Regions from separate parts of the Homo sapiens genome. Here regions 2, 3, 4, 5 and 6 are each linked to region 1. The links are contacts of gene promoters, found by promoter capture Hi-C in blood cells and fetal thymus (Javierre and others, 2016). All regions are on one chromosome and are shown on one strand. Each heading gives the region's core, a stretch centred on a gene start or on the middle of the fragment in contact. The rest is flanking DNA. Distances are from core to core; before and after follow the strand shown.

Region 1 (3,596 bases), core at 1-2,500:
ATGGTGGAGGGGATGGCAGCTCCCAGGTGGCGATTCTCACCCCCCGAGTGTCCCTCCATCCTGCCCGTGCACTCCCAGCGGTAGCCCACACGGAGCGGGCAGGAACCACACGGGAGCCATATGTTAAATCACGTGACTTGTGGATAAATGGCTTCTGGCACATCTAATGAAGAGATAACGTCTGCGAAATAATTGTGGAAGGAACACGGTCCTCTCTGCTAATTCATGTCACCAGGCAAAAATCTGGGCTCCACGGATGGAAAAAGTTGGGCCTTTACAAGAGGAGCCTTTCCCTGCTCCCAGTTTCAAAAGAAAGCCCTGCAGGAGCGCAGCGAGGCCACAGCCTGATTCATGCCTAATCATTGATCTGGCAGCGACAGCTCCCTGCCATGTGACGCGGTGTCCAGGAGGCTCATCTGCACCGCATGGGTCCCTGCAGCCCGTGCACAGGTGCCTCTCAGGAGGAACCGCCCCGCCCTGCCCTGCGCCCCCCACCCAGGAAGCCAGGGCTCCCGGGGGATGTGCCCACGGCTCCCACAGCTTGTACCTCTTCACGCCCCCATGACTCAGGGCTCCCTGGCCTGAAACTGTTCTTAAATCGCACAGCTGGGCGCAACTGCTCTCCCCGAATCCAAACCTCAGCCGCGGAGTCACTCCCAGCAGCCAGGGGCCCGTGGCCTTCGACAGGGCACCCCCACCTGTGAGGAACTGCCAGGGCAAGGCCACGGCGCATCTGACCCTCCCCTGCTTTAACGACAATTCTGCCAACAGTCGAATTCAACAGTGGCTCTGAACAAAGAAAAGTGCATTAATTATGGCAGATGTGTGGAGTTCCGGGACCCCGGCCCCGCGCCCCCCGCCCCGGCCCGCCCCGGCCCGGCGCCCGCCCCGAAAAGTCGCGACGACTTTGAGAACCACTTTTGCCCCCCCGAGTGGCGGCCGCGCTCGCGCGCCCCGAAACTCAGGCTCGGCAGAAACCGAAAGCGGGCGCCGGGGCCACGCCACCCCCAACCCGGAGGCGGGTCCCGGGTCTCCGGGCGGCGGAGGCGGGTGTCGCGTGGGGACCCCGGGGGTGTCCCGGCCCGCGCCCCCGCTCACTTTTTCGTGCAGTCCAGCAGGATCCCCGCGAAGCTCCGCTCGCCGCAGCTCACCGTGACCACCAGCGCGCCGTTGACGACCTGCTCCACCCGCACCGGCAGCCGGCAGCCGGCGCGCGGCTCCATGCTCCCGCCGCGTCCCAGGCCGCCCCCGCCCCGCCGCCGCCGCCGCCGCCGCCGCCGCCGCCGGGTCAGCCCCGCGCGTGACGCCGCCCCGCGGCCGCCTGACGTCACAAAGCTCCGCTGGGGCGGCCGCCACAGCCGAGCCGAGCCGGGCCGGGGGCGCGCGGCCGCGGGCTCCGCTCCCGGGGACCCCGCCCGCCGCCGCCGCGTCCCGGGAGAAGCCGCGCCCGCCCGCAGAGGTCGGCCGGACGCGCGGTGCGGACCCCCGGGCTGGAGAGGGGGCTGCGCCCGGGCTCGCGGCCCACGCTGGCCGGGAGTGTCCCCTGGCTCGGGAGGACCCGAGAGCCACGAGCCCGGGGGCGGCGGGGGGGACACCCGCCGCGGCCGGAGCCCCGGGACCCCATCCCCCCGCTCCCCTGCCTGGGGCCGGTCCCGGGCCCCCCTCCCCCTCCGGGCCCAGCCCTGCGCCCTCCCTCCCTCCCCGGTGGCCCGGATCCTCCCGCCTGGGGTCGGCCGCCCGCGTGTCCCGGCAGCGCCCCGCGCTGGGCTCTGGTGGCCCCGGGCACTGCGGCGAGGAAGTCCCGGGCGGCGCGCGCAGGAAGCCGGGGCAGGCGGAGGGGACGCGGGGCGCCCGGGGGCAGCGGCCTAGTGTCGCCCTCGCCGCGTGGGGGGCGGGACACTGGGTCGCCCCACTGGGCTCGGCGCCTCTCGGGGCGACAAGCGGGCGCGCGCCCGGCTCAGGGCCACCCTGCGCGCCTGGGGGTGGCCGGCACCGGGGCCCGGGGGGTTAACTCCCTCCGGAGGTCTCGGGCGTGTCTCTTCGGGTTGCCGGGCCCAGGGGCCAGGCGCGCCTCCGCCAGTTTACAAAGGAAACAGCCTCCTTCCCCCGCGGCAGGGGCTCCCCGACCCGCGGGCGAGGAGTGGGAGGTGACGGCGCCGGACCCCCTTCCCCCAGGCGCCCGGCTCCCGCGCCTTCAGGCGTCAAAGCCCCCGACTTCCCCGAGCACCAGCACGTCCGCACCCGGCTCAGAACGCAGGGGCCCGGCCTGCTGCGGTGACCTTGGCCCCGGGCCGGGCTTCTGAGCCGGACTTGCAGCGCCTGACGAGGCCTGGAGGCGGGGCGGGGGACCGCGTAGTTGTCCTGGCGACCCAGCGCCGCCGGGCAGGGCTCCTCCCAGCCTGGGAATTGAGGACCACCGCCCCTGGTGCCACTGGGGACCGTCGGGTCGCTGGCGCCTGTCGACCTCGCCCTCCGGCGGCCGCGCGGCAGTGGGAGCCTCAGAGAGGAGCCAGGGCGGAGTGAGGGAGCCCGCGGGGCCTGGGACACCTGACCGTCCGGCTAGAACAGGGGTAGGGACCGAGGCCGAATGAGCCAGAGTTCTGGCCGGGGACAGTCCCAGAGGAGGCCTGGAAGCCCAGTGAGTGTCTGTCCTCCTCTGTGTGGCCTGGGGCTCCCGCCAACACTAAGCCCTTCCTGGGGCCTCAGGCACCTCAAGGCGCCCCGTTCTCCAGGGTCAGCCAGCCCCTGCCCACTGGTTGCCAGGCTTGCAGTGGAGCCTGCCTGCTGTCCTGCCCACAGGCCTCTGCAGCTGCCCCCTCCAGGGGTGGGGCTGACTTTGGAGGAAAAATGCCAGGCAGCAGGGACCCCCTCGCCACCCTGCTCCAGGTTGGGCTGAGCGGCCATCCTGAGGCTGCCCACTTGCTTGGCTCTTCTTCCTGCCTGCTGGAGAGGCCTGCTGGGCACTGCCCTTTCTGAGCATTGGGGACTGCCAGGGTGAATCAGCATTCAGGCTGGTGGGGCCAGCATGGGGTGGGGCTAATGCACAGGGGGCTGTATGTGGGTGGAGGGATCCAGAAAGAGTGTCCAGGGGAGCACCAGCATTCACCAGGGCCCCACCAGGTGGGCAAAAGCAAGGGCTTCCGAGGTGGGGGTGGGGGTGGGCAGGATCCTCTGCAAGGTGTCTGCGTGCGCCTGGGGCTCCTGGTGACTTCCCACGCCAGCAGGAGGAACAGTTTGGGGTGTGCTGAGGGACCCACCTGTGGACTTGCTGGGCTTTGAGAGGAACCAAGGCTGGGTGGCGGCGGGCAGGACAGGGGAAGAGGGTTCCGGGGCACAGAGGGCCAGACAGATGCACCCAGCAGCTGGCAGCTCTGGCTGGAGAGGGGAAGAGGGCAGTGAGAAGCACGGCTGGCCCATGGTACCTCCTGCCCCTCTGCCCTGCCCGCCTTCCCTCTGCCCTGCCCACCTTCCCTCTGCCCTGCCCGCCTTCCCTCTGCCTCTTCCCCTCTGGCCCGTGCTATTTACTGTGTATTGTTAAGTGAACTTGGAAGCCGTTTTTAAAACCTGCTCTCCACTAGGTAAGGTATAAAAAAGAC
Region 2 (3,596 bases), core at 334-2,833, 220 kb before region 1:
CTTTGGGGGGACTATTGAGAAGGGATGATTGTATTTTGAAATGTGAGAAGAACATGAGATCTGGGAGGGGCTGGGGCAGAATGATACAGTTTGTATATTTGTCCCCGGCCAAATCTCATGTTGAAATGTGTCCCCAGTGTTAGAGGAGGAACCTGGTGGGAGGTGTTTGGATCATGGGGGCAGATGCCTCCTGAATGGACTGGGCCATCCCCTTGGTGATAAGTGAGTTCTTACTCTTGAGTTCACATGAGGTCTGGTCATTTGAAGGTGTGTGCACTTCATCCCCACTCGCTCTCTCTTGCTCTGGCTTTCACTGTGTGGCATGGCTACTCCCCCTTTGCCTTCTGCCTGACTGAAAATTCCATGAGGCCTCCAAGGGCTGAGCAGGTGCCAGCACTAAGCTTCCTGCACATCCTGCGAACCGTGAGCGAATTAAACCTCTTTCCCTCATAAATTACCCAGTCTCGGGTATTTCTTTACAGCAAAGCAAGAATGGCCTAATACACTCTTCTTCCATGTTAGCTGGAAACAGACACTGCCTATCACATCATTCTTAAAATTACCATCAGGAAAAACTGTGAAAGACTTTAAAATGAGCAATAATGAGAGTGCCTCCATTTAGCTCACCTATTTGGGTTATCTCTACCTTTAGTTGTCTCTGAGCTATGTTGCAACTCTGTGAGTTTAAAAGCTGATGATGATGGAAATGATTCTTGACCACAGAAATGCACAATGTCCAGCAGATGTGATGGATCATGACCCTGTGGACAGTGCCAGCCTTGCATCCGTGAAGCACACTCATGTCAGTACTGCTGATGGGAGAAGCTATTTGCCTACATTCTGGATTCTTCCCTGAACCAGTTCTACATCTTACTGGGTCTCTCCCTGATAAATAAACAACATTTATTATCTCAATTTAAAACTCTATTTTTAAAATAGGTATTTAAAGTGAATAAGTACCTATTCATTTTATATTTGCATGACAGACAACATTATATCCTGTTTTAAAATTTATCCTCATTCCCACAAGCAAACTTTAAACTACCTCAAGGTCCAACAGAAAAACAACTTTAAAAAATTAAGGCCTAACTATATCATAAAATATTCTGAAGCTATTAAGATAGACAGCATATATTAATTCACATAGAAAGATTTCCCAGCTTACAAAAAAGGCAGAGAGAGTAAGCTGTACGCACATGTGTCTGCTGCCCACTTGTGGATGACCCACTTGTGGACTGCACACCTGCCCACAGCCACGCAGGCAAACACATATGATGGGGTGTGCATCATGCTGGAGGCAAAACTGGGGAAGGAAAGAATGTTTATCCTTTTCTGCTTTGATCAGTATCCTCAGACTTCTGTGTGGCAGGCAGTTGCTCCACACACGCCACGTGCCAGACGCAGTCAGGTGCTCGGTGAAGCAATGCACAGATAGCCAGAAGCTTCCACTCCATGTACTGTCTTTGTCAACAGGAAGAAGGTCACAATGGATGTCCTGGCTACCTCACCTGCAGTCTGAGGATTCAAGATCTGCACTGGCCACACGAGCAGGTAACAGCCGCTCCTCCACACCCTTCAGGTGTGGCTCACAGGAGACCTTCCCTCTGGGAAAGGGGTCCTCCACCGCCTCTCACCCAGGCAGTGAGCGTGTGTGAGTGTGAGCATGCCCACGGCCGGTGGACATCCCTTCCTCTCGTCCCTGCAGTCACCGGAGGGAAAGCTTCTTGTCCTTAGATCAGACCAGGAGGCAGAAGGGCCCTGAGAGAGCCACAGGGTGGCTTTGCCCCAAGCCACACTGCACAGGAGCTCTGAAGGGCGGGGACTGTCTGCTGAGCTGCCTGCAAAGAGCCAGAGCCCAGGGCCAAGCAGGGTCTGTCCTGGCTCTGCCTCAGCCTGTGGCTTCGTGGCTCCCCACCTCAGCTCGTCACTGGGAGACCAAGAATCAATACAGCCACCAACCAGGGCGCGGTGTTTGAGGAGTCACCAGATGATGGAGGGAGAGAGAGCCTGCAGAATCTTCCTACAGGTGAAGGCTGCGGGGCTGGGCTGGGACATGATGCCGAAGCTGCAGAAGCGGCCTGCATCTGACCCCAGGGAGCAGACAGACCCAGGCTGCTTCGAAGGACCTCAGGCGGCCTCTCCCCACCAGCGCAGCAAAGCAACTGGCCAGCACGATGGCTCCACAACCCCCAAACATCCTCACTCCCAGAACAGACTGCCCAGGAGCTCCTGCAGCGTGAAGCTGGCCTTCCTCCCTGCTGCATGGTGCCACTCGCCACTGGCCAGAGCTACAGGAGATCCAGGACCCCATATCCCCCACGCCACGTCCCCCATCACCACATGACACATCGCCATGTCACCATGTCCCCCACACTGCATCCTCCACGCCACATTACCACACCACCTCCATCACCACCACACCCTACCCTGTCACCATGTCCCATGTCACTACCATGTCCCATGTCACCACTGCAACCCCAAAACCACATCCCATGTCACCACCCCATCCCCTATCACCAACACACACTATGTCACCACCACGTCCCATACACCATGTCCCATGTGACCACAGCATCCCACACACACCACATCCATCAGCACCACATTCTACACCACCACCACATCCTGCGTCACCACCATGTTCCCAATACCACATATCCCACACCACGCCCACGGCGTCCCCGCACGCCACATACCTCACACCACGCCCACGGCGTCCCCGCACGCCACGTGCCCCACACCACGCCCACGGCGTCCCTGCACGCCACATGCCCCACACTGCACATCTGCCACTGTGGTCCTCCCTTGGATGCTTGTTCACAACCAACAAAGCACAGGCACCTCCCACTGCAGCTGCCTCCCACGCCACCCTGTGGTTCTTTCAGGGCCCGTCTGCCTCCCGGTCTGACTTAAGGACAAGAAGCTTCCCCTCCAGTGGCTGCAAGGACAGGAGGAAGGCATGTCCACTGGCCATGGGCATCCTCACGCTCACACACATGCTCCTAAAACGACGCACACGACCATCCCTCACCGCTCCCCACAGGACCCGGAACCGGCAGCTACAGAGGGTGAAGCCCATCACCACTAAGAGGGGAGGCCCCTGTTCCCCAGGCCCAGGGCCTCAGGTGCCAGGCCCACCAGGCCATGAAGGTCGCAGCCTCTCAGCTGAGAGGCTCAGCTGCACAGCTTTGTTTATCCCAGCCGCCCAGAGCGGCAGACACCCCCTTGCCCCAGCCTGGGGCCTCCCAGCCCCTCAGTCTCCAACCAGCTCCTCCACCAACCCAGTGCCTACACTCCACTGACCCAGGGCCCACTCTGTCCTCAAAGCCCGCCCCTTCTCCTGGGTCTTCTTAGCTTCAAGCAAGGGTGCCCACCTCAGTCCCAGCTGCCCACTCTCCAGCAGGGCCAGTTCCTACCCCAAAGACGGGGCCCTCAAGCAAAGGGGCCTGCCCAGCTGCTTCACCAGGGGCAGAAATGCAGCCGCAAAGCTGTGTGTCGAATGCAGGCTGGGTCCCACCCCTTCGGTCAAACCAAGCGCAGTGAACTTCCAGGTTCCGAGAGTTCAGGAGCCTCCCCGCACCCAGCAGCCACTTCCT
Region 3 (3,596 bases), core at 614-3,113, 220 kb after region 1:
TACCCAACTTCCCTCATTGCTTAGAAAGTGGGCCTCTGCTAAGTTCAAAGTTTTTATTACCTTTCCATTTTTTCATGTTTTTGAAGAAGTTATGAAGGATCTGCTTTTCACAAGGGCGGGCCCCGGATCAGTCCCTGGGGCATGGCAGCATCGGGTGGGAGGCCACGTGGGCTGAGGGGCGGGAGCGAGGGCACGCTGGGACAGAGGCAGAGGGGCGGGAGTGAGGGCACGCTGGGACAGAGGCAGAGGGCCCGGCCGTAGAGACACCACGGTTTTCTAATCTAGGAGAGGTCTGAAGAGCTTTTTGGTTTTTGATTTAACCTAACTTCTAAGTAAGAAGATATTACCTCAAACAGAATGAAAAATAAATGTAGTCAAATGACACATACATGTTTACTTCTTCCCGTATTAAGCGTTACAGTTGAAATCTCTGCTGCAGTTAACATAGTACCTTGTTCTTTGTGCCTTTAATCGGGTTCGTTTCTAAATAGGTTGTCCCGGAACCATCGATCTCTAGAAGGTACAGGAGGAAGGGGACCTGCCAGTCCAGCCCTCATATTTTACAGAGGGAAAAGGTGAAGCCCCATGTAAAACAGGGATTTCCCTCGGTGACACTTCCAGGCTGAGAAGGGCCGGGGATCTGGACACCTACCCAGAAACACTCCCACCCTGTCAATGCCTCTCTGAATTATGTGATCAACTGCCTGGAGTATGAACTAGGCACATGCAAATAGAGAACAGAGGTCTTGTTGAAAATATGATGCTGAATTTTAAAAACTCACTCCCCAAATTAAAGGAACAAGACCAGAGCATTTGGTTTCCTGTGGTCACTTGATCCCTCTCCAGAGCCAGCTGCTGCTCTCCATTGTCAGCACACTCCACTCACTGCCCTATTTCCAGAACAGGAGACTTTCTGCCCCATCCATGGCCGCAACATACCACTCACACACACACACTACATGTGCACGTACACACAATGCACAATACACATACCTGCACATGTGCAAACAGCACATACACACTGCACATGCATGTACACACAATACACTACACACACATGCCCACACAATACGCACAAATGCACTGTACATGTGTACACACAATGCAAAATACACATACAGGCACATGCAATGCACAACACATACACATACATGCACATGCCCAAAGACACCACTCACACACAGCACACACATGCACACGATATATACACACATGCATACACAACACACCACTCACAGCACATGCATACGCGCACACACACACACGCACACACACGCACACACGCGCGCGCACGCACGCACACACGCACACACACGCACACACACGCGCACACACACACGCACGCACACACACGCGCGCGCACACACACGCACACACGCACACGCACACGCACACACGCACGCACACACGCACACACACGCACACACACACGCGCACGCACACACACACGCGCACGCACACACACACGCACACACACGCATGCACGCACGCACACACACACACACACACACAGTTCTGCTTCCAGGTTTGCAGTCTTCCCAAATCCCTCCCGCCCTACCCCATCTGTTCCGTCTCTTCTAGGGAACGTGATCTTCTCCCTCCCACCCACCCTCCCCTTTCTGGGCACTGTCCCTCACAGTCAGCTGAGGACCTCATCCAAACTGGAGCCATGTCAGGCACAGGACAGGTGGGAGGCAGCCATCCATGGGTCTGGCCTTGGTCTCTGTGGCTCCATGGGGCTCCTCAATGCCCCCAAGCAAGCTCTGGCACCCCAGGGTCCTCACTCAAGAGTGTCTCTGTGGACAGGCCTGAGGCTGCTAGCTGCAGAAGTGCCTGCTTGCAACGGTGGCCATTGGCTGGCGTCTGGGAACTTGGCTTCGAAGCATTCCTTTAGTGAGGAGGTTCCTGCCTAGACTGTGCAAACAATGTGATTCATGGCAAACACCAGCCTTCCTTTTGAGGGCCTGGCATGTTAGTGGGTGGGGGGCGCACAACTGAGTAGCCCCCAAATCAAAACCATGAATTTTGGGTCTTAGCTGGAATTTCCCGAGCAGAAACACTGCATATATGGGGCTGTGTTTTGCTGCTGGAGGGAGTGTGTGCCCCGTGTGCACCTCACAGGGGGAAGAGCATGGGAGGGGAGAGAGCACAGGAAGTCTGCTCACAGGCCTCTCCAGGCTGTGCCTGTGAACTCTTCCCTTGCAGATCCAGCCATGCCTCCCGATTATAGGGCTGCGATAATGGTGTGGCTGTGCCATGGTGTGGCTGTTGTGGTGTGACCCTGCCGTGGCGTGACCCTGCTGTGGTGCGACCCTGCCGTGGTGTGGCCCTGCTGTGGTGTGACTGTGTGCTGAGTCCTGTGAATCCTAGCGAGTCCCCAGAGATGCAGGTGGTCTCGGGGACCCCCAGAACATCTGCTTTCACTGTTGCCTGGAAGTGTGGGGGGTGGGGGGAACATGGGGCTGCGAATTGCCTTCAGGGAGCGCATTCTTTTACGTACTTGGCCATTCACGTGGCAAATGTTTATGTGAGTGTATCAGTGCCACAGTAAGGGTTCCGCGGGAGAAACCCAGATAATCCTCATCCCAAGAGCTCCCAGTTCTCAGGGAGGGGGCAGGAAAGTGCTGCTCAGGTGGCTGAGCTTCGAGTGACAGGAGAGAGGTAGGATGTGGGGAGCTCAGGCATAGTGCAGGTGGAGCCCCAACCAGCTCAGAGCCCGGGGAGCCCAAAAGTCCCGTCAACAAATACAGCCCCGTGACCGTGCATGATGCTGGGGGAGGATGAGCACTGAGGGCCCCTGCCCTTCACGCTGGAGGGGAAAGCCTGGGTAATTTTATCTTGGGCTGCAACGAGGATAGCTGATGAAGTGTAGGAACAAGTTGACAACCACAATCATGAACTTGGCTCATTGGACAGTGCCAAGGGCGGCAGCAGGGACAGGAGATGGCAGCATGCCTGGGGCACCACCCAGGGCTGACACAGGGTGTTTCCACAGGTCGGGGCCCCCAGCCCCACGGGCACGAAGGCACCAGAACCTCGCTAAAAGCTGCAGGGCAGAACCCTCATCAATACCACCATGGGTACCACGTGCAGACGTAGTCGTACATATGGATCAGGAAACAGCATTCTGATTGATGTCAAAACAGAGCCGGAGGAACAGGCCCCTGCCGTCTGTGTGTGCTGGAAATTTCCACTGGGATCTCAACTGTTTGGAAACATAACTCAGTTGGCAAGGAAGACAAGAACCTTCCTGGGGTCCGGAACTCTGCCTGCTTCAGAATCAACAGATGATGAATGCCACTGGAAGGCTCGGGACCTACAGCCTCAGTTTCCAAAAATGTGCATGAGACAAGCAACCCCAGGGTTCTCACACAGGGTGAGCCGCTTGGGAGGGGGTGAGACCCTGCAGTCTGGATCCTTGCTCTTCCCCAACACCGCCCCACAAATACACAGATTCCCAGCTGATAGGACATGGAGTGAGGGCCAAGCACAGGACCTTTCCCCATATGCTCTTTTGTCTGAGAAACTTTAGCCAAACATTTTCAAACCAAACAGAAACAAATGGCAGCCACTAACTCTGCTCACAGTCAAGGTAT
Region 4 (3,596 bases), core at 320-2,819, 200 kb before region 1:
CAGTGGTGTTGAGCCTTCAGGTGCACAGAAGACAAGAACTGAGGTTTGGGAACCTCCACCCAGATTTCAGAAGATGTATGAAAATGCCTCGATGTCCAGGCAAAAGTTTGCTGCAGGGGTGGGGCCCTCATGGAGAATCTCTGCTAGGGCAGTGCAGAAGGGTAATGTGGGGTCAGAGCCCCCACACAGAGTCTCTATTGGGGCAATGCCTAGTGTAGCTGTGAGAAGAGGGCCACCATCCTCCAGTCCTCAGAATGGCAGATTCACCAACAGCTTGCACTGTGTGCCTGGAAAAGCCGCAGACACTCAATGCCAGCCCATGAAAGCAGCCGAGAGGGAGGCTGTACCATGCAGAACCGCAGGGGCGGAGCTGCCCAAGATCGTGGGAGCACACCTCTTGCAACAGTGTGACCTAGATGTGAGACCAGGAGTCAAAGGAGATCATTTTGGAGCTTTAAAATTTGACTGCCCCGCTGGATTTCGGACTTGCATCGGCCCTGTAACCCCTTTGTTTTGGCCAATTTCTCCCATTTGGAACGGCTGTATTTACCCAATACCTGTACCTCCATTGTATCCAGGAAGTAACTAGCTTGCTTTTGATTTTACAGGCTCATACATGAAAGGGACTTGCCTTGTCTCAGATAAGACTGGACTGTGGACTTTTGGGTTAATGCTGCAATGAGTTAAGACTTTGGGAGACTGTTGGGAAGGCATAACTGGTTTTGAAATGTGAGGACATGAGGTTTGGAGGGGCCAGGGATGGAATGATATGGTTTGGCTGTGTCCCCACCCAAATCTCACTTGAATTGTATCTCCCAGAATTCCCACCTGTTATGGGAAGAACCCAGGGGGAGGTAATTGAATCATGGGGGTTGGTCTTTGCTGTGCTATTCCCATGATACTGAATAAGTCTCAAGAGATCTGATGGGCTTATCAGAGGTTTCCGCTTTTACTTCTCTCTCATTTTCTCTTGCTGCAGCCATTTAAGAAGTGTCTTTCACCTCCTGCCATGATTCTGAGGCCTCTCCAGCCATGCGGAACTATAAGTCCAATTAAGCCTCTTTTTCTTCCCAGTCTCAGGTACGTCTTTATCAGCAGCATGAAAATGAACTAATACAATTCCCAAAAGAACTGAAAGCAGGAACTTAAACAGATATCGGTACACCCACAATCAGCCAGAAGCTGGAAGAAACCCAAGTGTCCATCCACGGACAAATGGATACAATTGTGGTCTATCCACATAACTCAGCCTTAAAAAGGAAGGGTATTCTGACTATGCAACAACCTTGAGAACATTATGCTAAGGAAAATAAGCCAAACACAAAAAGACAAAGAATGTATGATCGCACTCATGTGAGATATCTGGAGTCATCAGATTCATGGAGACAGAAAGTAAAATGTTGGTGACAAAGGAACTGGGGGCAGACAGGGACTCAGTGTTTAACGAGGACAGAGCTGCAGTTTTACAAGATTAAAAGAGATCTGGAGATGGATGACAGTGATGGTTATGCAACATTATGAATGCATTTCATGCCACTGAATTGCACCCTTAAACATGGTTAAGATGGAAAATTTTATACCCATTTTACCGCATTAAAAAGGTGGAGGTAATCTCCATCGCCACAGCGCCACTCAAGCAGCCGAGCCACACACTGAGTCTCCACACGTCTGAGAGCTGCACTTTACTCACCTCATATAAAATGAAAAAAAGAGAAAGTTCTGACCCTAGCAGTAGGAAGGGTAGGTCCCAGACGCCCAAGCGAAATCAAACAAAAACTGCAATTGAAATTAAAACAGACAGTAAATCTGAGACCTGCCCAAAAGGCCCAGAGTCACTATGTGTAGCACAGCCCGGGAACACGCACCACAGGCCCAGGGTCACTACGCGTAGCACAGCCCCGCAGGACGCACCACAGGCCCAGAGTCACTACGCATAGCACAGCCCCGGAACACGCACCACAGACCCAGAGTCACTGCGCATAGCACAGCCCCGGAACACGCACCACAGGCCCAGGGTCACTACGCGTAGCACAGCCCCGGAACACGCACCACAGGCCCAGGGTCACTACACGTAGCACAGCCCCGCAGGACGCACCACAGGCCCAGGGTCACTACACGTAGCACAGCGCTGCAGCACACACTAAAGGACAAAACACTGGAAACAGAGGAACAAGCAGACACGTGCAATGCACACAGATGTTAATACAGTTTTTACAACCGCTCTGCATATAAACATATCCCCAACATGTAACACTATTGTTTAACTTGCCTAATGCATTCCTGAAGATGTGTAAGAAATTATATAATTTCTTAAAATTCACAACTGAAATAACAATATAATATCCTAATATGTGACTCAAATTTTATCCCACTGAATGTAAGCACTTTCACAACAAACCACAATATCCTCAATGAAGAAAATGTGGATATAGAAACTTCCCACCACCTGCAGGAACAGGGGAGATGGCCCGAGTCCTTGTGGATGAGCTGACAGACCACATCCAGACACCCTGACACATCTTCTGAGACTGAGAGAAGAGGGAGAGGACAGTAGCACAAACACTGAGAAGAACAGAAAAGGTTCTGTCACTTAGGGCTTCAAATTACTAGAAAATAAACCCTCGGCCATGAAAACACAAGTGCATGTGCATACGCACACATGCGCACACACACTCACACACATGCATGCACACATGCACACGTGCACATACCCATGCACACACATGCAAACACATGCACACATACACACACGCACACACGTACAGGAGCCTGCACACACACATGCATGCATACACATGCACACATGCACACACGTACAGGAGCGTGCACACAAACACACGTGCATGCACACACGCATGCACACACGCACACATGTGTGCACACACGCACACATGCGTGCACATGCGCGCACACATGCACACATGCACAGGAGCCTCCAAACACACGTGCATGCACACACATGCACACACATGCACACACACGCATGCACACACGCACACAAGCAAACACATGGACACACACAAACGCGCACATGTACAGGAGCCTGCACACAAACACACATGCATGCATACACACGTACACAAACATGCACACACACATGGGCCGGGCGTGGTGGCTCACGCCTGTAATCCCAGCACTTTGGGAGGCCAAGGAGGGTGGATCACGAGGTCAGGAATTCTCAAGAACAGCCTGGCCAACATAGTGAAACCCTGTCTCTACTAAAAATACAAAAAAATTAGCCGGGCATGGTGGTGGGTGCCTGTAATCCCAGCTACTCAGGAGGCTGAGGCAGGGGAATCGCTTGAACCTGGGAGGTGGAGGTTGCAGTGAGCTGAGATGGTGCCACTGCACTCCAGCTGGGTGACAGTGCGAGACTCCATCTCAAAAAAAAAAAACAAAACAAAACATGCACACACACGCACACACACTTGGGTGTCCTCTTCTGCCAAGATCAAAGACAAAAAAGAAATTTTGAATGTACATGTGCCAGAAGCTTTTATAAAATTAGACCCTGCCTACCACGACACCCTTTAATTGAGGGCCATTCATCCTGCCCAAACTGGTCTTTACTGGGCCATGCCGCCACGCCGCCATGC
Region 5 (3,596 bases), core at 618-3,117, 200 kb after region 1:
AATGGGATGAGCGTCCCCATGTTTTGCCTCAGGGCCCCTGGTGAGCAGCTGCTGCTCCAGCAAGGCTGGAAACTCAGGTCCAGCCCCTGCCCCGATGCAGGGACTCAGGGTCCAGTGCCCCACCCCGATGCAGGGACTCAGGGTCCAGTGCCCCGCCCCGATGCAGGGACTCAGGGAACCTGCATCTCCCCAGGGCTGCACCCAGGAGGCCGAGACCATGGCCCCTCGGCATCAGAGGCGGGGCTGGGTGCTCACCTCTGCGCTTGGCCTGAGCGATGGCGTCGGCCGCCCCCTTGCTCATCACCTTGGTGACGTACAGCGGGCAGTTTGCCTGCTTGGCGATGGTGACAGCTCGGTACACCGCCTCAGCCTCCACCTGGGGACGAGATGAGAGGGATGAGGCCACACGAGGGCCCTGGGGCTCCAGACCAGTGTGGGCAATGGGGATGCCCAGGTGTCACCCATGGGATCCCAGGCTCAGGGCAGCCTAGTAGGAGCGGCCCAGCCTCGGGCTCAGTGCCTGGGCCTGCCCACGCCACCTTCTGGGCCTCGGGTACAGGCTGTAGGGTTGTGGGGGGATGGAGGACAAGTGCCTGGCACGGGGAGGATTCACGCCTCCCAGATGAGGTCGGGGCGAGCACAGTGGCAGGGCCAGGAGCCCAGGGCCAGGGTCAGCACAGCCCCAGGCAGCAGTGGTCTGGGCGGAGTTGGCTCGGGTGTGCTGTGGTGCCCTGGGATCTTACCTCCTCGGGGTGGCTGAGCACGTGGCCCTCGGGGCCAGTGATGCCGAGCTCCAGCAACCGCTTCTGCTCCTAAAGAAACCAACAGGATGCCTCGCTCCAAGCCCTGAAGGGAGCCTGGGCCTTGGATGCTAAGCCCAAGGCTGGGAGGCCCCATTCCCCAAGTGGTCCTGGACCCCCAGGCCTCCCAGAATTTCCCAGCCACAGAACACTCAGAATAGAGGGCAGAGGGGCTTGGAGAGGTGTGATTCCTGCTCCCTGAGTTACCAAGGAGGGGACAGCTCGGATAGGGGAAAGTGGCTCCCCCAAGGCTGCAGGGCTCCTGACTGATGGCACCAAGACCCCACCCTCCCACCACTATGCCCATCACGCTGCCTCCCCCAGCGGGGGCATGTGTGGGGGTGTGCACAGGCAGGGAGGGCTCTGCAGGTCAGGAATGGACGACCACTCCTTCCTCCAGCACTGCCTTTCCGTGCAGATTTGCACTACGGCATCCGCTCGTGTCAGGGAAGACATGGTACCGGCCAGAAGCAGCAGCCCCAATACTGAGGCTCCCTCCCGCTGTATGTGGAGCATCCCTAGACCCAGGACAACCTCCTGACGGTGCAGCCGGGGCCTGGCCTTGGGCCACAGAAGTGTTTGTGATGCCCCGATGCCCTCACAGCTGGACGGGTGGACGAGGACACTGGGGACCCCCCACATGCCCCTGCCCGAGTGCCACCACCTTCCTGTAGAGCTCAGGAGGTGGGCAGAGCCCGTCCCGTCCCACGAAGTCTCACTGTGGGTTTGCAGTGTCAGGGAGGTGTGTCCTGTGTGGTGACCCCCACTGAGGTCCCACGGGTATGGGGTGGCCCACTCTCTGAACTCCATCTGTACCTGTGGGTGCCTCTGCTAGAGGGGAAAACAAGGTGCAGGGCCAAGGTTGCCTCAGCCCCAAGGGCCTGGGGGGTCGGCGCCACTGCACGCGGGCTCAGGCCCTCCCCAGCCCGGTGGGATGTGTCTGAAGGATGTGGCCCTGTCAACATGGGTGCCCTTGGCTGGAAGGAAGGTGGTAACCCAACCCCCAGCGGGTACCCCGCTCCACAGGAGGGGCCTCGATCCCTGGGGCTGACACTTTGCTTTTGAGGTATTTTGGATAAGAAGTGTTGATCAAGGAGAAGCTGTTTTATGGCCTCAAAGCTCCCCATCACCCCCCAGTCTCTCTAACTCACTGGTTGACCTTTGACTCGGGGTAAGCTATGACCCTCCCTCAAGGTTTTGTGGGATTCTGTGCTGATGTCTGCGTATCATGAAAGTCACCCTCAGACCCCTGCCCCACCCCACAGGCAGCCCCTGCCCCACGGCAGCCCCTGTGCCTGCCCCACGGCAGCCCTGCCCCACGGCACCTCCTCCACGATGTCCCCGTTCTCAGCGTGCACCTGGGCCAAGGCCCCCAGGTCCCGGATGATGCTGAAGATCTCGTACATCTGGGAAGAGAAGTGGTGGCGTCCTGGGTGGGGCTGCGCCTGCACCAGCAGCGGCCTGGGATATACCTGCCCACTCCGTTCCCCACGCCTGCCCTTACCTGGCTGTCGCTGCACTGGCACCGGTCCTTGTATGCCATGAAGACCAGGAAGGAGTTCACACCTGGAGAAGAGGCAGGGGTCAGAGGCTCAGCCATCACCAGTCAGACAACCTACGGAGCCTCTGCTGCTCCTGCCCACTGGAGGGTTGGGGGTCTTGGGCCCCTCCCCCGCAGTGCTTCCCTCACTGGCTTGCCAGCCCTGGGAGCAGTCCCCCGCTTCCATGCACACACCAGCAAGCTGGGAAGTGAGGCGGAGGCAGCTACATCCAGGCCCTCCTTGCCTGCTCCTGTGCTCCGGGTTAGGAACTGATTGTCCACCCAGCGGCAAATGCAGGTGAGAACCCCTCACACCCATCCAGCAGACCCCCCGTTACTGGAAGAGCCGCTGTGCCTGGGCTCTCGGCCTGGGTTCCACTGGCTCCCTCCTGGAAGTGCGGCCAGGGCCGCGCTGTGCTGGGGACCTGCATTCTGGCCGTCCAGCACATCCAGCACCTGCCTGCAGGGCCTTGGAGCCCCACTTGCCATGCCTGGCTCACAGTGCAGGCTTGTGGGACCACCCAGATCTCAGGGCTGGGCCCTTAGGACGAGCAGAAGGATGAGGGGCTGCCTCTGACGTTGGGGCCCAAACAGGAAGAGGGCTGAGCTCTCCTGTTTCCTGGGCAGCCACAGCCCATCCACCTCCCCCAGGACTCGGAACTTGTGTGGGGACCGGCCTGGGCCTGGAGGCAGGATCCCAACCTCCCATCACTCAAGCCCACCCAACCCATGGCATCTCCTCCTCGCTGGGTGGAAAGTGCTAGTGTGACAAGCTAAGGCACACTGGGGAAACTGAGTCACACTGTGCCCCACAAGCCATCCCTCCAGGTAGCAACCTGTATGTGACCTGGAGTTTGAGGCCTGCCCCCGAGTGTCTGAGGAAGGTCATGTTTGGGTTGCGCAGTGCTGTCCCTGCAACACTACCCCGTGGGCACAGGACTGAGGACTCCTGCATGGCTCTTGGGGAGCAGAGGCCCCAGCACTGCCAACACAGGGTGAGGGGAGGTGCAGGCCCTGCTTCCACCTCCGCTCTGAGACACGAGGCCACAGGCCTCCCGAGTCCACTCACAGAACAGCATGGGTGGCAGAGCAGCTGCCTGGAGTGAGGCCCAGGGACTGAGGATTGACGGGCTCCACCAGCCCCCGGGCAGGGAGGTGAGGGGTCCTGACATCAAGGGGCACCTATGTGATGACCGTCACCCTCTGAGGAATGGGAACCCAGAGGAATGGCCTTGAAGAAATGCCCCTGCCTCCTT
Region 6 (3,596 bases), core at 555-3,054, 140 kb before region 1:
CACCGTGGCTGAAACGCCAAACTAGGTCAGACCGGCCTGCCTCTGGGGAGCTCCCAGTGCGCCCTGGGCCTCAGCTCCCTGGTCTCTCCAGAGATGGGGGCACCCTGGGATCCTGGGTGGGAATGAGGCTTGGGTGGGAGGGGCCCTAGAAGGTAAAGGCCATAGGCAGTCAGCATCCCCTTTCTGGCCCTGAAGAGCTTCTCAGCATCTTTTTCTTCAATAAACAAGAAATATAAAGTCCTACAGTGCTTTACAGACTTCCCTTATTTACGAACTAAAGAGATACTAAGTGGCAGGGTTAAATGGGGGCACCCTACCCTCTGGCCCTGCAGGGACAGACAGACAGTGAGGCCGGCACCCAGGCATCCAGGAGCTGGGGCTGACAGCCAGAGTGGAGGGCCTAGGCTCAGAGGACAGGGGCCAGGGGTGGGAGTCAAGGGTTAGGGTTTGGGAATTCTGCAGGCTCAAGGCCCAGGCTTTAAGACCAGGATTCAGGATTCAGGATTCAGGGGCAGGAGCTTGTTGGAGGAAGGGGCCAAGGATGGGATCTAGGAACCAGAGTTAGGGGCAGGGTCCAGAATTGGGTTTGGGGCCTGATTCTGGAACCAGGGTTCCAGGTTCAGGGGTCAAGGACAAGTGTTCAGGGCCATAAGCTGGGGCCTGAGGTTGAAATTCAGGGTTCAGAGTCAGGCTAGATTGGCTTTAGAGGCAAAGGGCCACAGTATGAAGGCTGGGATTCTAGGGCTAGAATTCAGTGATTGGGGAACAGGGACAGGAGGTTGGGGCCACAGCCCTGTGTCAGAAGTTCCTGGGTTAGGGTTTGTGGTTATGTTTCAGGGTTTGGGGTCCAGGGCTCAGGGACCAGAGACAGACGTTTGAGAGCAGGTTCTGTAACCAGAGTTCTGCAGTCAGGATTTGTGGTTCCAGTGACCATGGACCTGGGGTTCAGGGCCAGGGTTGGGGATGGGCATTCCAGGGCCAGGGTTCTGAGGATTCGGAAATCAGGGCTGGGGCTGGGTTTGGTGCGCACAGACCCGGTTTCTGGGGTTTGGGTTCCAGGAACTGTTAACAGGGGTTCTGACAGGGTTTTAATATTGGAGTTTCGAGGTCAGGATTTGCAGACAGGAGTTCAGAGGCAGGGTCCCAGGGTCAACGGTCAGCTGCTGGAGTCTGGAGGATGGGGTTCGGGGATTCAGGGCCCAGGTCTTCAGGTCTCGGGCTTGGGGATCAAGACAGGGGTCTGGGCTCCCAGACTTGGGAATCAGGACAGGAGTCTGGGGTCCCGGGTACAGGGATCAGAGTCTGGGGCCTCTGGGTCTGGAGGTTCACGGTCCAGGGTCCAAGGCTTGCAGTTCGGGACCCCGGGGTCAGGGTCGGGGGTTCCGGGCTTGGGGCCTGCCGCCGGCACGGGGGACTTACGTCGTCGAAGAGCGAGCCCACGTTGGCCGTGACCAGCAGCACCGCGGTGCCCGGGGCGGCCGCCTTCCCCGCCATGGTGCCCGGGCGGCGCGGGCGCTGGGCTGGGCGGCGGCGGCGGCGGCCGCTTCCTCCGGGACCGGCCGGCCGGGGTCTTCGCGGGGCCGCGGGGCGTCAGCTGCGCCGGGGGGCGGCCCCGGGGCGCATCGCGGGCTCGGCGGGTCGGCCGGGCCTGGCCGGGGCTCCGGCCTCGCGCTCGCTCGCTCGCTCGCTGCTCCGCGGCCCCGCGCCCGTCGCTCGCCGCCGCGCCTCACAGCGGCCCGCGCGCAGCCATTAGATCCGCTGGGAAAGTTCCCGCAGCCGCCGCCGACTCAGGCTGAGGGCAAGTCCCGCCCCGCGGAGCCGAGCCCGGGGCGGGGCCTGGGCGGGGCGGAGCCTGACTCGGGGTGGGGCCTGTGCGGGGTGGAGCCGGGCCTGGGGCGGAGCCTTGCTGGGGGCGGAGCCTTGAGGTGCGGAGCCTGAGTTGGGCCTAGATCTGAACAGAGTGGGGCGGGGCCTGCGGGGGGCGTGGCTTGTGCGGGACTTGGTGTCCTTGTGGAGGCGGGGCCTGCCCCGGGGCGGGGCCTCCTTTCGGGGCGGGGCCTACGCGGGGCGCTCTTGCGACCGGCGGCCTAGTACTGGTCGCTCCCGGAGGGCGCTCCTGTCAGTCAGGCCCGCAAGAACGCCGCGCCCCCGCCCCGCCCCCCGCGCCGCGGCTGCGCACAGACTCCGCCCTTCGCACTTCTATGACGTCACGGCCCTGCTCCGGCGGCGCCTCTTAAAGGGGCCCTGGGTTCCGGGCGCCGGCGGCGGGTGCGCTCTCTTGCGGCTCTGAGGGGATGTTCCAGCCCCCGCGCGGCCGCAGTCGTCCAGCCGCGTGCCGGGCGTGCGGGGGAGGGGAGCCCACCGGGGCGGCGGCAGTCGCGCCTGCAGGGGCCGGGCCACGCGCGCCCGGCTCTCCGCGCAGACGGAGCGTGGACCGTGCAGCTTCCCGGCGCGTCCACCCGGCTCCCTGGCCGCGACCTCACTCACGAGGAGCGGCTGCGGCCCAGAGAAGACGGAGGGGAGGCGGCGTGAGGCCAGGCGCATCCTGACGTCGCGGAGGGCTCCGGCCCGGGCCAGGCTGGGTCTCAGCGCGGGGCGTGCAGGGAACCCTCGCAGGGACGAAGGGGGCTCCAGGGGAGGGGGCTGGTGCGGGCCCAGGAGCGCAGAGCACGGAGGAGCAGCCGGCTCGGCGCGGGCCCCGGGGCAGCGATGCTGATCCTGGCCGCCGGAGGGGCCAGAGCATGGGCTGGACCCTGGGTCTGAGGCCGCGGGGACACAGCCGCCGTGAACCGGGACATGCCTGTAGATGGAGGAGGAGAACCACATTTGTCATCTTAAAGCTTCCAGTAGCTACATTTTTTAAAGGTAACAAGTAATAGCCAAAGTTAACAATACGTTTTACTTAACCCAATAGATAGATACATCATTCAACATGTAACCAGAATTTAACAACCTCAGTGAGATTCCTTCACAGGAAGGCTTTGCACGGGCACCTGCCTCTTGGCAGCAGCTCACAAGGCCGCTTCCAGTGCTCAGCAGCCCTGTGTGGCCAGTGGCCACCATGCGGAGCAGGCACTCCGGAGGATTTTGTGGACACAGATTTAGGGGCGGTCAGGGCCTGGCAATGGGCTCTAGCGAGGCTAGCCTCCAGCTTCTGAGTAAACCGCCAAGGCAATGCCCAATGACATCAAAAGGGGCTTGTTCTGTTCTAGGAAGACACCTGCTGCCAGGGCGGGGCGGCAGGAATGGTGCTGCAGGCTCGGGCCCCAGGCCTGTGCTGAGGCCGCATCACTGGCTTGTGTTAACACCCCCAGGGTTCCTCCTTACGGCCACCGCTGAGCAGGACTCCAGCAAAATCCATTTGATGTATAAACCAATGTCTACTTTAGTCAGTAGGTGCCTGCTACAGACTGAATTCCGCCCGCCCCACCCCACCCCACCCCGCAAATTCATGGGTTGAAGCCCTAACCTCCAATGTGACTGTATTCGGAGGTGGGCTAGCGGGGGTAATTAATGTTAAGTCGTGCAGTAGGGCTGGTGTTTAATGTTAAGTCGTGCAATAGGGCTAGTGTTTAATAGAAAGGGCTCAGTGCTGT

Evidence for each region. The method cuts DNA at HindIII sites, captures the fragments that hold promoters and counts their contacts. A CHiCAGO score of 5 or more calls a contact.
Region 2: a contact is called between a fragment that was not itself captured here and the fragment with the promoter of PWWP2B in region 1, in 1 of 17 cell types (naive CD4 T cells). The highest score is 5.2, in naive CD4 T cells.
Region 3: a fragment that was not itself captured here is called in contact with the fragment with the promoter of PWWP2B in region 1 in 1 of 17 cell types (total CD4 T cells); the score reaches 5.5 in total CD4 T cells.
Region 4: a contact is called between a fragment that was not itself captured here and the fragment with the promoter of PWWP2B in region 1, in 1 of 17 cell types (total B cells). The highest score is 8.2, in total B cells.
Region 5: a contact is called between a fragment that was not itself captured here and the fragment with the promoter of PWWP2B in region 1, in 1 of 17 cell types (naive CD4 T cells). The highest score is 5.8, in naive CD4 T cells.
Region 6: the fragment with the promoter of INPP5A here is called in contact with the fragment with the promoter of PWWP2B in region 1 in 13 of 17 cell types (naive CD4 T cells, megakaryocytes, total B cells and 10 more); the score reaches 13.8 in naive CD4 T cells.

The regions. Positions count from the first base shown.
Region 1 is chr10:132,394,854-132,398,449 of GRCh38, reverse strand. It overlaps PWWP2B (PWWP domain containing 2B), which reads right to left and starts at 1,250. Exons shown (of 3, transcript NM_138499.4): 1 at 1,099-1,250. The coding sequence starts at 1,223. It overlaps LOC124902526 (a long non-coding RNA gene), which reads left to right and starts at 1,894. Exons shown (of 2, transcript XR_007062342.1): 1 at 1,894-3,596. RefSeq lists enhancers at 1-192, 193-715, 2,286-2,808, 2,809-3,332 and silencers at 978-1,117, 1,128-1,237, 1,648-2,077, 2,098-2,477. The HindIII fragment of the contact is 15,859 bases long and covers 1-3,596 here.
Region 2 is chr10:132,615,491-132,619,086 of GRCh38, reverse strand. The region is part of intron 2 of INPP5A (inositol polyphosphate-5-phosphatase A); the gene reads right to left. Among named protein-coding and RNA genes, the nearest start is that of INPP5A, 80 kb to the right of the region's middle. The HindIII fragment of the contact is 278 bases long and covers 1,445-1,722 here.
Region 3 is chr10:132,178,440-132,182,035 of GRCh38, reverse strand. The region is part of intron 23 of JAKMIP3 (Janus kinase and microtubule interacting protein 3); the gene reads right to left. JAKMIP3-AS1 (JAKMIP3 antisense RNA 1) reads left to right here. Exons shown (of 4, transcript NR_184044.1): 3 at 492-575; 4 at 2,996-3,596. Among named protein-coding and RNA genes, the nearest start is that of JAKMIP3-AS1, 6.5 kb to the left of the region's middle. The HindIII fragment of the contact is 8,704 bases long and covers 1-3,596 here.
Region 4 is chr10:132,596,234-132,599,829 of GRCh38, reverse strand. The region is part of intron 1 of INPP5A (inositol polyphosphate-5-phosphatase A); the gene reads right to left. Among named protein-coding and RNA genes, the nearest start is that of INPP5A, 60 kb to the right of the region's middle. The HindIII fragment of the contact is 3,852 bases long and covers 1-3,495 here.
Region 5 is chr10:132,195,631-132,199,226 of GRCh38, reverse strand. DPYSL4 (dihydropyrimidinase like 4) reads right to left here. Exons shown (of 14, transcript NM_006426.3): 5 at 2,305-2,366; 6 at 2,126-2,206; 7 at 744-812; 8 at 256-376. Among named protein-coding and RNA genes, the nearest start is that of DPYSL4, 10 kb to the right of the region's middle. The HindIII fragment of the contact is 8,271 bases long and covers 1-3,596 here.
Region 6 is chr10:132,535,995-132,539,590 of GRCh38, reverse strand. INPP5A (inositol polyphosphate-5-phosphatase A) reads right to left here and starts at 1,804. Exons shown (of 16, transcript NM_005539.5): 1 at 1,420-1,804. The coding sequence starts at 1,494. LOC107984282 (a long non-coding RNA gene) reads left to right here and starts at 2,668. Exons shown (of 4, transcript NR_158224.1): 1 at 2,668-2,865. RefSeq lists an enhancer at 854-903 and a silencer at 1,684-2,783. The HindIII fragment of the contact is 3,408 bases long and covers 1-2,842 here.